Regions from separate parts of the Homo sapiens genome. Here all the other regions are linked to region 1. The links are contacts of gene promoters, found by promoter capture Hi-C in human tissues and cell types (Jung and others, 2019). All regions are on one chromosome and are shown on one strand. The core of a region is centred on a gene start or on the middle of the fragment in contact, and the rest is flanking DNA. Distances in the headings are between cores, read along the strand shown. Region 1 holds the start of MAP3K3 (mitogen-activated protein kinase kinase kinase 3). Region 2 has its middle 9.5 kb from the start of MARCHF10-AS1. Region 3 overlaps TANC2 (tetratricopeptide repeat, ankyrin repeat and coiled-coil containing 2). Region 4 overlaps TANC2 (tetratricopeptide repeat, ankyrin repeat and coiled-coil containing 2).

Region 1 (3,286 bases), core at 369-2,868:
CTTCTCATACTGTATGAGGGACAGCATGAACTAGAACAAGGCAATTCATTCAAAGCCAGGGTGTAGAGATGGGTCACAAAACAATATCTGGCGAATTTGACATAGCGTACAGTTAACCTCCTACAAAAAGGACTTGACCTTGCTATAGGGCAAGGCAAACATTAAGGCTCCCTCTTCACATGGGGCACTTCACAGAAGCAACGGAACGTTTTGCAAACGATCCTCTCACTGAAGTTTACCCTTTTATTATTATTTAGGGCAATACCAAATATTTTGCAAAACTTGTGACAACAGTATCACAACACCTGTCTGGGCAGGAGAAGTAAAGAACGTTTAAAATGTTATTTCTTAGTCTAGTCCAGTAGTCATTTGCTAAACTACCAAAAAGGATATGGAATATAATTCAACTCAAATGCTACGTGCGGAAGACATTAAAAGCTTTCCTTAGATTACATCTTCACAGTAGAAATTGTAAATACTGACAAAAAGGAAGTGATTTCAGAGAAATTCTTTTGTGTAGCAAATGTTTCTTTCAAAAGTTACATAATTTCAGGGATACCGCAAGAAAAAAATAATGGATTAAACCCCTGCAACGGGATTTTTCAAAAAGTAGGATGTGAATTCTAACTGGCAGCATCCGACCAACTCCTGACCCCCAGCAATCTGCGTGCAGCACGCATTTGTCAACCGCGCGCTTGATCACAGCTCCAGTTTAATCGCCTCCTAGCCGAGCCCCGCACGCCCTCCCCCCTGCGCTGGGGCGCGCACAGGGCTGGAGAGCAAGCCCCGGGAACTCTCACAGGCCGGCCTGTGTGAGCAAAGGGAAGGAAATGACACAGGCAGGAAAAAAAAGCAAATCAAGGAAAAGACACAACAGCAGCTGGGCCTGCGGCAGCCTCCAGCCCGGGCCCCACACTGCGCTCTTGCTCCCCCGCCCTCGGGCTCGCGGTCCGGCTCGTTCGGACCAGGCTGCCCCGCGGAGCACGGGCCCTCGGTCCCGCCGCCGCTTCCCCGGGATGCGCCCGCCGCGCCGCCCAGAAGGAGGGCTGCCGAGCGGGCTCTGCCGGCCGGGCCGCCCCGCGGAGCCAGAACCCCCGCCCGGGCCGCGGCGCGCGAGCGGGGCGGGCGGCCGGCCGGCCGGCGGTCCGCAGCCCCGGGCCGGGCGGGCTGTCCATGCCTGTCAGGCGGTGGCCCAGGGTCCTCCTCCCTCAGCCTGGGGCGGGGCGTCGCGAAGCAGCGCGGGCACAGGCCGGGGCGGTGGCGACACTTACCCATGGTGGCGATGGCGGCGGCGGTGGCTAAGGTCCGTGAGTGTCACCTCCGCAGCCGGGGCTGCATGCCGGGGGCCCGGGCGGCGGGGACGGCAGCGGGCCTGGCTCCGCGCGGGGGGCGCGGGCTGCGCTCTGGGCCCCCGCCGCCTCCCCAGGCTCCGGCTCCGGCTCCGCCCGCGGCCGGGCGCTGTGGCATCGGCAGGGTGGCCCGCTACATCCCGGGCGCTCCTGGGCTCGGCCCAGCCCGGCCTCGGCGGCGCCGCTCGGCCCGCCCGCCCGCCAGTCCCTCAGACCCGCAGTCTCTCCGTCCGGCCACCGTTCTCCACCTCAGGAACGCTCCGAAAAACAAACCGCTGGTCGCGCAGCTCGCCCCCCTGTCTGTCACTCACGCCGGCCCCCACCAATCCCAGGCAGCCGCTGGGCCGTCGCACCACCCCCACCCACCTCACCAGCCAATAACAAGAAGGAAGTCGGCAGCCCCCGCCGTCCCCCTCCAACTCTCTCCCAACACCCTAACTCTCAGCGGCCAGCTAATCATCAGCACCACACGATGAACCAATCCCGCCTACTCTCACAGGATGCCAATGGGCGAAGCCAAGGCGGTTTCCGAGGGCTGTCTAGCGCCTGCCAATCATCGGGACAGCGCCCGGCTCCCTGCGCTGTTAGCCAATCACGTAGAGGCCTCTAAGCCCCCGCCTCTGCGCATCCCTCTCTGGTGCTGTCTCCCTCTCTTGGGAGAGATTGGGAGGTGTTGGTTGTTCCAATCACAGCTCCGGCGTGAGGCTCCGCCCACATTCCCACCTCCCGTCAGTCACCGAAGGCTCGGCGGGCGCGCGGGCTGGCGCAGTTCCCCGCCGGCTACTTTAGGGCTGGGGTGAGGAGTAGGCGGCTGCAGGGGGCCCTCAGGCCTTCCGCCCTCCGGGTTCTCGGAGGCCCCAGCGATCTGGGTGGTTCCAGAGGGTGGCGTCCTGCTCCTCCCCGTGCCCAGCACAGGGCGTGTAACGAGTGGGGAGGGTCTGGCCTGAGCACTTCCCGGCGCGCGGCCACCTCTGCGGCCCCATCCCCCGACTGGTCCTCCGGTCCCGACGCTGCTCTTGCCCCGGGCAGGGGCGGCCGGCCCAGCCCAGCTTTCCCTGTCTCACACCTCCAGGGCCACACCCTCTGGTCTAGGTACCTCAGACACCCGAGGCTGGGATAGTGCTGGCATGTGGGTCCCTGGAAATCTGAGTTCCGCCAGAGGTTCTTTCAGAAAATAACTTTTTTCTTATAAAAGCAACACGAGCTTTTTGTAGGAAAATTGAAAAATGCAGAAAACTATGAAAAAGAAAAGATCCCACCCCAGAGATAATCTATTTCCTACCTAGATAGGCGTTTGACAAAAATGGCTTTGTATTGTTTTGTAGTATGCTTACATTTTATTCTGTTTTCCCGTGCCACCAAATATCCTTCCAAAACAATTGTACTGATTGCATGATGTTTCAAAATTAAAGGCACCATAATTAATTTCCCCAACCTTTTCATTGTTCAACATTTTATACACTCAGATCTTCAGATTCCAAGTCCACCACAATTAATGTGGGCTCCTTTCTCCGGCCTCTGTTCCAGTGTAATATGTCAGGCTCCAGAATAATCTTCCTCAGATGTCATTGTCCACTGTCCACTAAGAACATTTAGTGGTGGCTTTGCCTTGAGTGTCAAATCCCTTAAGAATTACCTTGGGCTCTCCCCTATTTCTTTTCTTTTTCTTTTTTATTTTTCGAGATGGAGTCTCACACTGTCGTCCAGGCTGGAGTGCAGTGGCGCGATCTCGGCTCACTGCAACCTCCGTCTCCCGTGTTCAAGCAATTCTCCTGCTTCAGCCTCTCAAGTAGCTGGGATTAACAGGCGTGCGCCACCACGCCCGGCTAATTTTTGAATTTTTAGTAGAGACGGGGTTTCGCCATGTTGTCCAGGCTGGTCTCGAACTCCAGACCTCAGGTGATCCGCCAGCCTCGGCCTCCCAAAGTGCTGGGATT
Region 2 (3,286 bases), core at 579-3,078, 930 kb after region 1:
TCAGCTACTCAGGAGGCTGACGCAGGAGAATCGCTGAAGCCCGGGAGGCAGTGAGCTGAGATCGCGCCACTGCACTCCAGCCTGGGTGACAGAGCAAGACTCCGTCTCAGAAAAATAAAAAATAAAAATAAATAATGCTAAAATATAAAATAAAGCATCCCCAATGGTATAAATGTCTAATACGTCAACCGAGCCCCACTTTATTTCTATGCATTGTACCCCACAGCCCAGGAGACCCAGGTGTCCCTCCGCCACTGCTTTGGGAAGGGAGGCCGTGGAGGCTCAGAAGGAAAGAGGTCATTCTTAGCCCTCAAGTCTCAAAATAGCCCTAAAACTCTCCAGAGATGAGAGGTTGGGACAAAGTTCTTTAGTCCCCAGGCCTGACTACAAGATCTCGAGGGGCTCTCTGTAGCCCTGTTGCCCACCCCACAACACGTTTTCCAGTGCAGGGAGGAGAGGTGGCATGGCAAGTTCTTCACCTTTGTGCCTTAGCTTTCTCATCTGTAAGAGGGGGACAGTAGCACCTACCTTATGTTGTATTGGGAAGATTAAGTGAGTTAATACGTGTTAAGCAGTTAGAACAGGGCGTGTACATAGTAAATAATACCTATTTTGTTATTATCATTGTCATGGAGGAATAGTGGGTCAGAGGCAGTGTTCTGAGCCCCCTGCAGCCCCAGTATGAGGAAAGACACCATCCAAGGTTCCCCAAGTCCCTGAGGGAGATGCAGAAGGGCAGGACACCCCTGCATAAGCCAGCGGGGACATAAATGACCGGGAACCAGATGTCCCTCCCCCAGCTGTGAAACCTGGACGCTCCATAGGACCTTAGAGGCACCTGGAAATATAGGCGAAAATCCCAACTGCACTAGAAAACCTTAACTGACCAGGATTTCCCTGAAATGGCTATAACTAAAGCTCTGCCATCAGCCGATGCAAGGAGACAGTTAAGGTTCTGCACTCCTCACTGTGTGGCCTTGAACCTCAGCGCCCCCAGCGTGTCCACCTCCAGCAGGAAAGGCCTGCCCACCGCTCCTCCTCCTCCCCTTTCTCCAGCGCTGGCATCCCGCCTGCTTGTCTGGCCAAGGAAGGATTGAAATCTGTCCCTCAAATGGTGCTGGTTCTGGTGGGAGTGAAGCCTGCAGGCTTTCCCCGGGGCCTCTTGGCAGTCCCAGCCCCGAAGATAAAGAAAATCAGGCCTGTCCGGAACATCTCGGTACTTTCATCTGGTGCTGGTCTTTCACAGCCCCCTTCATTTCCCTGCTGTCCTTTGCCCGCCCTCCCTCCCTCCAGCCTGCCTTCCTCCGGGTCCTCCCTCAAGTCGCAATTCTTTGCCTTGTGCCTGCAATGGACTCAAGCCCTGGTGCTCGAGGCGGCTTGGCCGGGCTCAGGTGGCTCCGTTCCAGGAGAGCCATGTGGTGTGGCTGGCGGCTCCTCACCCCTGCGGCCTCACAGGGCTGCCCACTGGGCCAGGCCAGCTCTGCCAGCACACCTTCGAGGAGGCCATCTCTGGCGCGACAAGAAGCGGTTGAGAGAATGCTGTTCTCTGGAGAGCAGCCGCATTCTCCCATTCATTCACGGATCCAGGTGGCCAGAGCGGGGCGGGTTAACCCTGCAAGTGAAGGCTGGGCCTAGCGCCTGGCATACAGTGCTGATTGCCCAGGCCTGCCAGGATAGGCTTGGGGGCATCTGCCACCCAGCAAAGAGCCTGGTATGTAGAGGAGGTACTTGATGTATTGAAATGAAATGAGCAGAAAGGAAGGAGACTGCCACCAGGGCTATCCTGAGCCAGAGGGTGAGTGGCCGGCATCCAGAGCCTGCCTCCTGCCCCTTCAGAGAGATGCAGGAGCCTCCCTTAGTCATCTCTGGGCAGGCTTAGAACGAGGTCTAGGGGTAGCCTCCAGGCACCCGTGACGCTGTCTGAAATGCTTGCAGGTGGGTGCAGGGCCCTGGGGAGACTCGTCACCTGAGCAAGGCAGAGAGACGTGAGGAGAGCAGGCACCAGCCACTGACGAGGGCAGCTCTGGCCACTGGGGTCCTCCGTCCCTCCGCTGCTCCCTCCCACCCCTCAAGCTAGTGATCCGGACCTCACTCCTTGACCTTTCTTCTCTCCCGAGGTTAGAGTCACTAGGGTCTTGGGGGGCCTCTCCCCCAATGTTTCTTGTGGTGTTGTGTCTGGAGTTGGTTCCTTCCAGTGGGTTCGTGGTCTCACTGACCTCAAGAATGAAGCCTCGGACCTTCACGGTGAGTGTTACAGCTCTTTTTTTTTGTTTTTGAGACAGAGTCTCGCTCTGTCGCCCAGGCTGGAGTGCAGTGGCACAATCTCGGCTCACTGCAAGCTCCGCCTCCTGGGTTCACGCCATTCTCCTGCCTCAGCCTCCCGAGTAGCTGGGACTACAGACGCCTGTCACCACGCCCAGTTAATTTTTTGTATTTTTAATAGAGATGGGGTTTCACCATGTTAGCCAGGATAGTCTTGATCTCCTGACCTCATGATCTGCCTGTCTCGGCCTCCCAAAGTGCTGGGATTACAGGCGTGAGCCACCATGCCTGGCCTAGTGTTACAGCTCTTAAAAGTGGCACGGACCCAAAGAGTGAGGAGCAGCAGCAAGATTTATTGTGAAGAGTGAAAGAACAAAGCTTCCACAGTATGGAAGAGGACCTGAGCGGGTTGCTGCTAGGGGTGGGGTGGGTGGGGAGGACACAGCTTTTATTCCCTTATTTGTCCCCGCCCATGTCCTGCTGATTGGTCCATTTTACAGAGTGCTGATTGGTCCATTTTACAAACCTCTAGCCAGGTACAGAGTGCTGATTAGTGCATTTTTACAGAGCACTGATTGGTGCATTTTACAAACCTCTAGCTAGCTACAGAGCACCAATTGGTGCATTTTTACAGAGCACTGATTTTACAAACCTCTTGTAAGAAAAGTTCTCCAAGTCCCCACTCAACCTAGGAAGTCCAGCTGGCTTCACCTCTCACTGTGGGCAGTGGCAGGGCACTTAACTCACAAAGGGAGCTGTTTGGGCTGCAGGGCTAGATAGCAACTCACTCCAGGGTGAACCTCCCACAGGACTGGGACTCCCTCCCCTGAGTGATTAGGCGCCTTCCATGGGTCCTGCTGTTGCTGGGGCGGCACAGAGAGGATTGCTGGAGGGGGTCCCCTGGGCTCCACCGTAGTCCTGGACTCAGGCCAGCAGCTCATGGGCTCTCCCTAGGGCTCCTGTCTCAGGAAACAGCACCCCATTCACCCTGCAGTCCAGGCGGGAAGCTTGGAGTGCTTCCTGA
Region 3 (3,286 bases), core at 378-2,877, 550 kb after region 1:
TCCCTGGTTTTGTTGTTTGAAGTTTTAGCTTTGTTAATAAAATTCAATTACGCTCATTGATTTGAAAAATATTTTAACTGACAAAGCTCAGAGTAAATTAGATAAGTGATTTCAAACATCTATATTTGATACTTAATAAAATTTGACATTTAATAATTACAATTTTAGTAGTAATTTGTACTAATTTTATTTTTAGAGTTTTACATAATCTCATTTTTATATCAAAATATGTTTACAGGGAAAATAAGAGTGAATAAGATAAATTCCAGACATAGTCATAATACATGCTTATTACTTAAGTATGATTAAGTATTAGCATAAGTTAAAATTTTCAACTCATATTATTCCTCTTTTTAATCTGCAACAAACAGTTTTATAAAAATAGTACAGCTCTAAAAACTGGGAAGAGCAAACTTGGAGAAAAAGAGGGACACGATTATAGAATAAATAAATCTGAAGCTTTTACAGGATTAAAAACTGCACATCTGTAAATCTCAGCTTTATTTTATTTTATGCTATTAAAGATTCTTTGAAAACCAAACTCAATAAATGATTGTCTGAAATTTTATAATCTATTTTTCATCATTTTGGGTTCTCAACTCATTCTCTTTCAGATCATTCATTCACCATTTATTTAGTGACTACTATATACTATGTACTTATTATTGGCACATAAGGATACAGCAGTGAACAAAGCATAAAAATCACTGCTATCACGCAACATCCATTCTAGTTTTGAACAGAGAAAATAAACAGAATAAATAGGAAGGTGGTAAGTACTATAAAGAAAAAGGAATAGAGAGCTGGTGGTCATGCAATGTTAAATAAGTTAGAAAAGGTCTAACTGGGTATTTCACTGACTCAGAATGTTTTTACCTAGTTTTGAAGTTGTCCCTTCAAAAATTAATCAAAGGCCTATGATAATAAATTTTAAATAGAAAAGAAAAATAAGTAGGAAGATCCTAATATAGCAATTACCAACAAAAACCATTTCTTCTGAGACAGCTAAGACAACAAATACTATATTGATGAAATTTAAAAAGCCAGTGTGTGATGATACTCCAACAAATGTTGGTGTTGAAAATTCACTTTTGGATCCATTCCAAAAGTGATATCCAGATATATACCATAATGCTTCAAAATTACTTAAAAGTTAATATCATTTAAAAAAACAGGCACAAGACAATATTTAATTTTCATATATCTTGAATAAATAATATATAGATTTTTACATCATATCATTTAAATCCTAAATGAGAAACTAGAATATCTAAACTATACCATGGCAATATCCTAGTCTCCAAATTAAGTACTAGAAAGAAATATCTATCGTTATTTTTTGAAATTTAATAATCAATCTGATGAAAATTTACCTTGCCCAGAGCGGCTTTGGCGAGAGTCTACACTTGACTGTCTTCGATCCGGTGGTTCCTCGCTCCCTCCATCTGCATAAAATTAAAAGGAGCATAAGCAAATAGATAATGAGATTGACATAACAGTGTCTCTGACATTATCTACATTTAAAACTACTATATCGATCATTTATTTGTATTTCCTATAATCCGGATCATTAAAATATTTGAGGATTTTTCTTATATAAACCAATGGTTCTTACCCTGATTTTTGTGGGTTTACACTCCCCTCTTGAAGTCTTAAGAAAGTGTAGGTGTTTTTCCCCTCCCCCATATGTATATACTCTACTTTGCATATAATGAAGGAAAGTTATCAACACCAAAGTTCAGTCACAGAATTCCAGTTAAGAAGGCCTGATTTAAAACAATCTTTTAAATTAATTACAGCTGCTTTTTCTGTCTAAAGTACAACAGCACATCAAATAATCCCTAGTACTGTTTTACTATAATAAGAATTACATTCGTATGTTTTATGAAATAAAAATCAATAAACCTATAAAATAAATCAATAAAAGCTAAAAACCAAATAAATCTTGAGTTTATTTTACCATGATTTTTAAAATTATATAGAAACAAATCCATTTCATTGTATACATCTTCTTTTAAGAAATAACCAAAACAGTATATTCCCTCATGCATGTTAAGAAAAGCTAAAACAAATTTTACTTTATTGTAAATAATTGCCTCAATTTTGTTATATAGAAACAGAAAAATTATGCATCATAAATTCATTAAAATAGGCACAGTAAAACAGAAATTAATATATTAAGAATGTAAAGTATAATATAAAATATGAAACTAAACCAAGCAAAATCTTTAACATAGTGGTCTATACACCTATAAATTTGTTATCACTTTAATCAGATGAAAAATGCATTAAGGCATCAAACAATTTCCTTTGTTCGTTCTTTCATACAATCACTTGTCTTATTTTTAACTTGACAGGGAAAAGGGGTAGTAGCTGCAAGCAGGTTTAATAAAGAGTATTCTTGCTCTGTCATCTACTTATTCTATGGTTTATTGTTTTTAATAGAGCTCGTGTAGTAACATCTATTGCTTTTTAAACAGAATGGCCTGTTTTTTAATTCATTATTGATATAAAGCTTCCTTTTAAGTATATTTATTATATGTAAGGCCTAGCAATAATTAAATCCAATTCATGTATATATATCAACTATTCTCTATTTTGTAGAGGGCTGTTAAACTAGCAAGTACAGTAACATTTAATCAATCGATTCCAAATATACGACGACAATACAAAATAATAAGTACATTGCCAGGAAATATTCATATCTCTTAGTCCACAGTAATCTAGTAAAACACTCCACTAATTTAGTCAGATTTGTAAAATAACTTATCACATAGAAAGATACTCAAAGTGATAGGCAACCATATTTTTTCCTCCAGTATGAAAATACTTTTTAAATATAAATCAGTTTATTTTAGTTCTGCTGTTACTATATAAGTTACCACATTTGAATAAAAATAGACATGTTGACAAAATAAGGTGTTATCTGAAAGACAAATATAAGAAATTTTTCTTTGACATTATTTTTAAAAATTAAAGCAAAAATCTACTCATGGATTATCATCTCTGAATGGCTGATCTGCCTCTGTTGAAATTAAAACTTAAATTCTTTAATTTTGTCCTTTTAAAGGAAATGTGAACATTTACAATCCTTCTTAACTGTATATCAAATTCTAAGTAAACAACTCTATAAATATGGATTCTTTTTAATAAGGCTCAGTATTTCAACTGGGCCAACTCAAATTTAATTTCTAAGTTTTAAACCCTCTAGGATTCCTTCTACCTCACTCTCTTGTGAATTAATATTCAATATGTCCAAAAATCCTAAAGTTTTCTCTTCTTTCTA
Region 4 (3,286 bases), core at 419-2,918, 530 kb after region 1:
AAAGCAGTACCGATTGAAAGAAAATACTTGCAAAACACATATCTAATAAAGGACTAGTAGTTAGGCTGTAAGAACTCTTAACTCAGGAACAAGAATGCAAACTACCCAATTTTAAAAATGGGCAAAAGATCTGAACAGACGCTTCACTAAGTAAGAAACATGGATGATAATATAGTTTGGATATTTGCCCCGCCCCTATCTCATGTTGAACTGTAATCACCAATACTGAAGGTGGGCCTGTTGGGAGGTGTTTGGATGATGGCCGGAGGGGGATCCCTCATAGCTTGTTGCTGTCTTCGTGATAGTGAGTTCTCATGAGATATGGTCATTTAAAAGTATGTATCACCTCCCTCCACCCCTTGCTCCTGCTCCCGCCATGTGAGAAGGTGGCTTCCCCATCCACCTTCCACTATGATTGAAAGTTCCCTAAAGCTTCCCTAGAAGCCAAGCAGATGCCAGCACCATGATTCCTGTACAGCTTCCAGAATTGTGAGCCAATTAAACCTCTTTTCTTTATATACTACCCAGTCTCAGGTATTTCTTTATAGCAATGCAAGAATGGCCTAATACAGATGCTCAACATCATTAATCATTACAGTAATTCAAACTAGGAGTTACTACTACACACCTAGTAAAATGGCTAAAAAAAAAAAATACCAGCAAAACCGAGTGCTGACAAGAATGAACTACAGCTCTCATATACTGCTGGTGACAATATCAACTGGTATATATAAGTTGGGAAACAGTTTGGCAGTTTGTAAGTAAACCTACCATATGACCCAGAAATCCAGCTCCTAGGAATTTACCCAAAAGAAATGAAGATATATGTCCCTCCTCCCACACACAAATAGAAAAATTATTACTCTCCACAAACTGAAAAGTACCCAAATGTCCATCAACTGATGAATGAACAAATTGTGACATATACATGCAACAGAATCTTACTCAGCAATAAAAAGAATGAACTTCTGATGTGTGCACAAAAATTAAAAATGGGTAATATGTTCTTATACACCAATAACAGACAAACAGAGAGCCAAATCATGAGTGAACTCCCATTCACAATTGCTACAAAGAGAATAAAATACCTAGGAATCCAACTTACAAGGGATATGAAGGAGCTCTTCAAGGAGAACTACAAACCACTGCTCAACGAAATAAAAGAGGACACAAACAAATGGAAGAACATTCCATGCTCATGGATAGGAAGAATCAATATTGTGAAAATGGCCATACTGCCCAAGGTAATTTATAGATTCAATGCCATCCCCATCAAGCTACCAATGATTTTCTTCACAGAATTGGAAAAAACTACTTTAAAGTTCATATGGAACCAAAAAAGGGGCCCGCATTTCTAAGACAATCCTAAGCCAAAAGAACAAAGCTGGAGGCATCATGCTACCTGACTTCAAACTATACTACAAGGCTACAGTAACCAAAACAGCATGGTACTGGTACCAAAACAGAGGTATCGACCAATGGAACAGAACAGAGCCCTCAGAAATAATACCACACATCTACAACCATCTGATCTTTGACAAACCTGAGAAAAACAAGAAATGGGGGAAGGATTCCCTATTTAATAAATGGGGCTGGGAAAACTGGCTAGCCATATGTAGAAAGCTGAAACTGGATCCCTTCCTTTCACCTTATACAAAAATTAATTCAAGATGGATTAAAGACTTAAATGTAAGACCTAAAACCATAAAAACCCTAGAAGAAAACCTAGGCAATACCATTCAGGACACAGGCATGGTCAAGGACTTCATGTCTAAAACACCAAAAGCAATGGCAACAAAAGCCAAAATTGACAAATGAGATCTAATTAAACTAAGGAGCTTCTGCACAGCAAAAGAAACCACTATCAGAGTGAACAGGCAACCTACAGAATGGGAGAAAATTTTTGCAATCTACTCATCTGACAAAGGGCTAATATCCAGAATCTACAAAGAACTTAAACAAATTTACAAAAAAAAAAAACAAACAACCCCATCAACAAGTGGGCAAAGGATATGAACAGACACTTCTCAAAAGAAGACATTTATGCAGCCAACAGACACATGAAAAAATGTTCTTCATCACTGGTCATCAGAGAAATGCAAATCAAAACCACAATGAGATACCATCTCACACCAGTTAGAATGGCAATCATTAAAAAGTCAGGAAACAACAGGTGCTGGAGAGGATGTGGAGAAATAGGAACACTTTTACACTGTTGGTGTGACTGTAAACTAGTTCAACCACTGTGGAAGACAGTGTGGTGATTCCTCAAGGATCTAGAAGTAGAAATACCATTTGACCCAGCCATCCCATTACTGGCTATATACCCAAAGGATTATAAATCATGCTGCTATAAAGACACATGCGCACGTATGTTTATTGCAGCACTATTCACAATAGCAAAGACTTGGAACCAACCCAAATGTCCATCAATGATAGACTGGATTAAGAAAACGTGGCACATATACACCAGGGAATACTATGCAGCCATGAAAAAGGATGAGTTCGTGTCCTTTGTAGGGACATGGATGAAGCCGGAAACCATCATTCTGAGCAAACTATTGCAAGGACAGCAAATACCACACGTTCTCACTCATAGGTGGGAACTGAACAATGAGAACACATGGACACAGGAAGGGGAACATCACACACCGGGGCCTGTTGTGGGGTGGGGAAAGTGGGGAGGGATGGCACTAGGAGATGTACCTAATGTAAATGATGAGTTAATGGGTGCAGCACACCAACATGGCACACGTATACATATGTAACAAACCTGCACATTGTGCACATGTACCCTAGAACTTAAAGTACAAAAAAAAAAAAACTCAAAAAAAAAAGTCAGTAATACGGTCAAAAGACTATATACTACATGGCTTCATTTACAGAATATTCTGGGAAATACTATAGTATTAGAAAACACTTAAGTCGTTGCTAGGGATTAGGTTGAGGGAGACAACTAATTACAAGGGGGCATGAGGGAACTTTTTATGGAAATAAGCTATATTTGATTTAGTGGTATTTAACATGACTATATATGTTTTAAAAATTCATGGTATGTACACTTAAAATGGCAAATTTTACTTATATAAATTAAATAAACCTGACTTTTAAAAAACCTAATTTGTAATAACATACTCACTGTACACTTATGATTTGTGAACTTTTCTAATTGGATATTTTATCTCCAAAGTACACTTTTAAAATAACAGCACAGGTGGTAGTCTGGTCCCTAAAACGACTGTAGGCATGTTAAACATAATACACACAATAACAATGCATAATTTCT

What was found. Contacts are between HindIII fragments. The study calls those that stand out against the background at their distance.
Region 2: a fragment that was not itself captured here is called in contact with the fragment with the promoter of MAP3K3 in region 1 in 1 of the 25 tissues and cell types used here (dorsolateral prefrontal cortex).
Region 3: a fragment that was not itself captured here is called in contact with the fragment with the promoter of MAP3K3 in region 1 in 1 of the 25 tissues and cell types used here (hippocampus).
Region 4: a contact is called between a fragment that was not itself captured here and the fragment with the promoter of MAP3K3 in region 1, in 1 of the 25 tissues and cell types used here (hippocampus).

The regions. Positions count from the first base shown.
Region 1 is chr17:63,620,749-63,624,034 of GRCh38, reverse strand. MAP3K3 (mitogen-activated protein kinase kinase kinase 3) reads right to left here and starts at 1,618. Exons shown (of 16, transcript NM_002401.5): 1 at 1,272-1,618. The coding sequence starts at 1,275. RefSeq lists silencers at 868-917, 1,158-1,217, 1,308-1,697, 2,308-2,377. The HindIII fragment of the contact is 13,015 bases long and covers 1-3,286 here.
Region 2 is chr17:62,695,066-62,698,351 of GRCh38, reverse strand. No RefSeq gene overlaps it. Among named protein-coding and RNA genes, the nearest start is that of MARCHF10-AS1, 9.5 kb to the left of the region's middle. The HindIII fragment of the contact is 8,069 bases long and covers 1-3,286 here.
Region 3 is chr17:63,072,102-63,075,387 of GRCh38, reverse strand. TANC2 (tetratricopeptide repeat, ankyrin repeat and coiled-coil containing 2) reads right to left here. Exons shown (of 28, transcript NM_001394998.1): 3 at 1,374-1,445. Among named protein-coding and RNA genes, the nearest start is that of TANC2, 110 kb to the right of the region's middle. The HindIII fragment of the contact is 3,473 bases long and covers 1-3,286 here.
Region 4 is chr17:63,089,754-63,093,039 of GRCh38, reverse strand. All of the region lies in intron 3 of TANC2 (tetratricopeptide repeat, ankyrin repeat and coiled-coil containing 2), which reads right to left. Among named protein-coding and RNA genes, the nearest start is that of TANC2, 130 kb to the right of the region's middle. The HindIII fragment of the contact is 7,427 bases long and covers 1-3,286 here.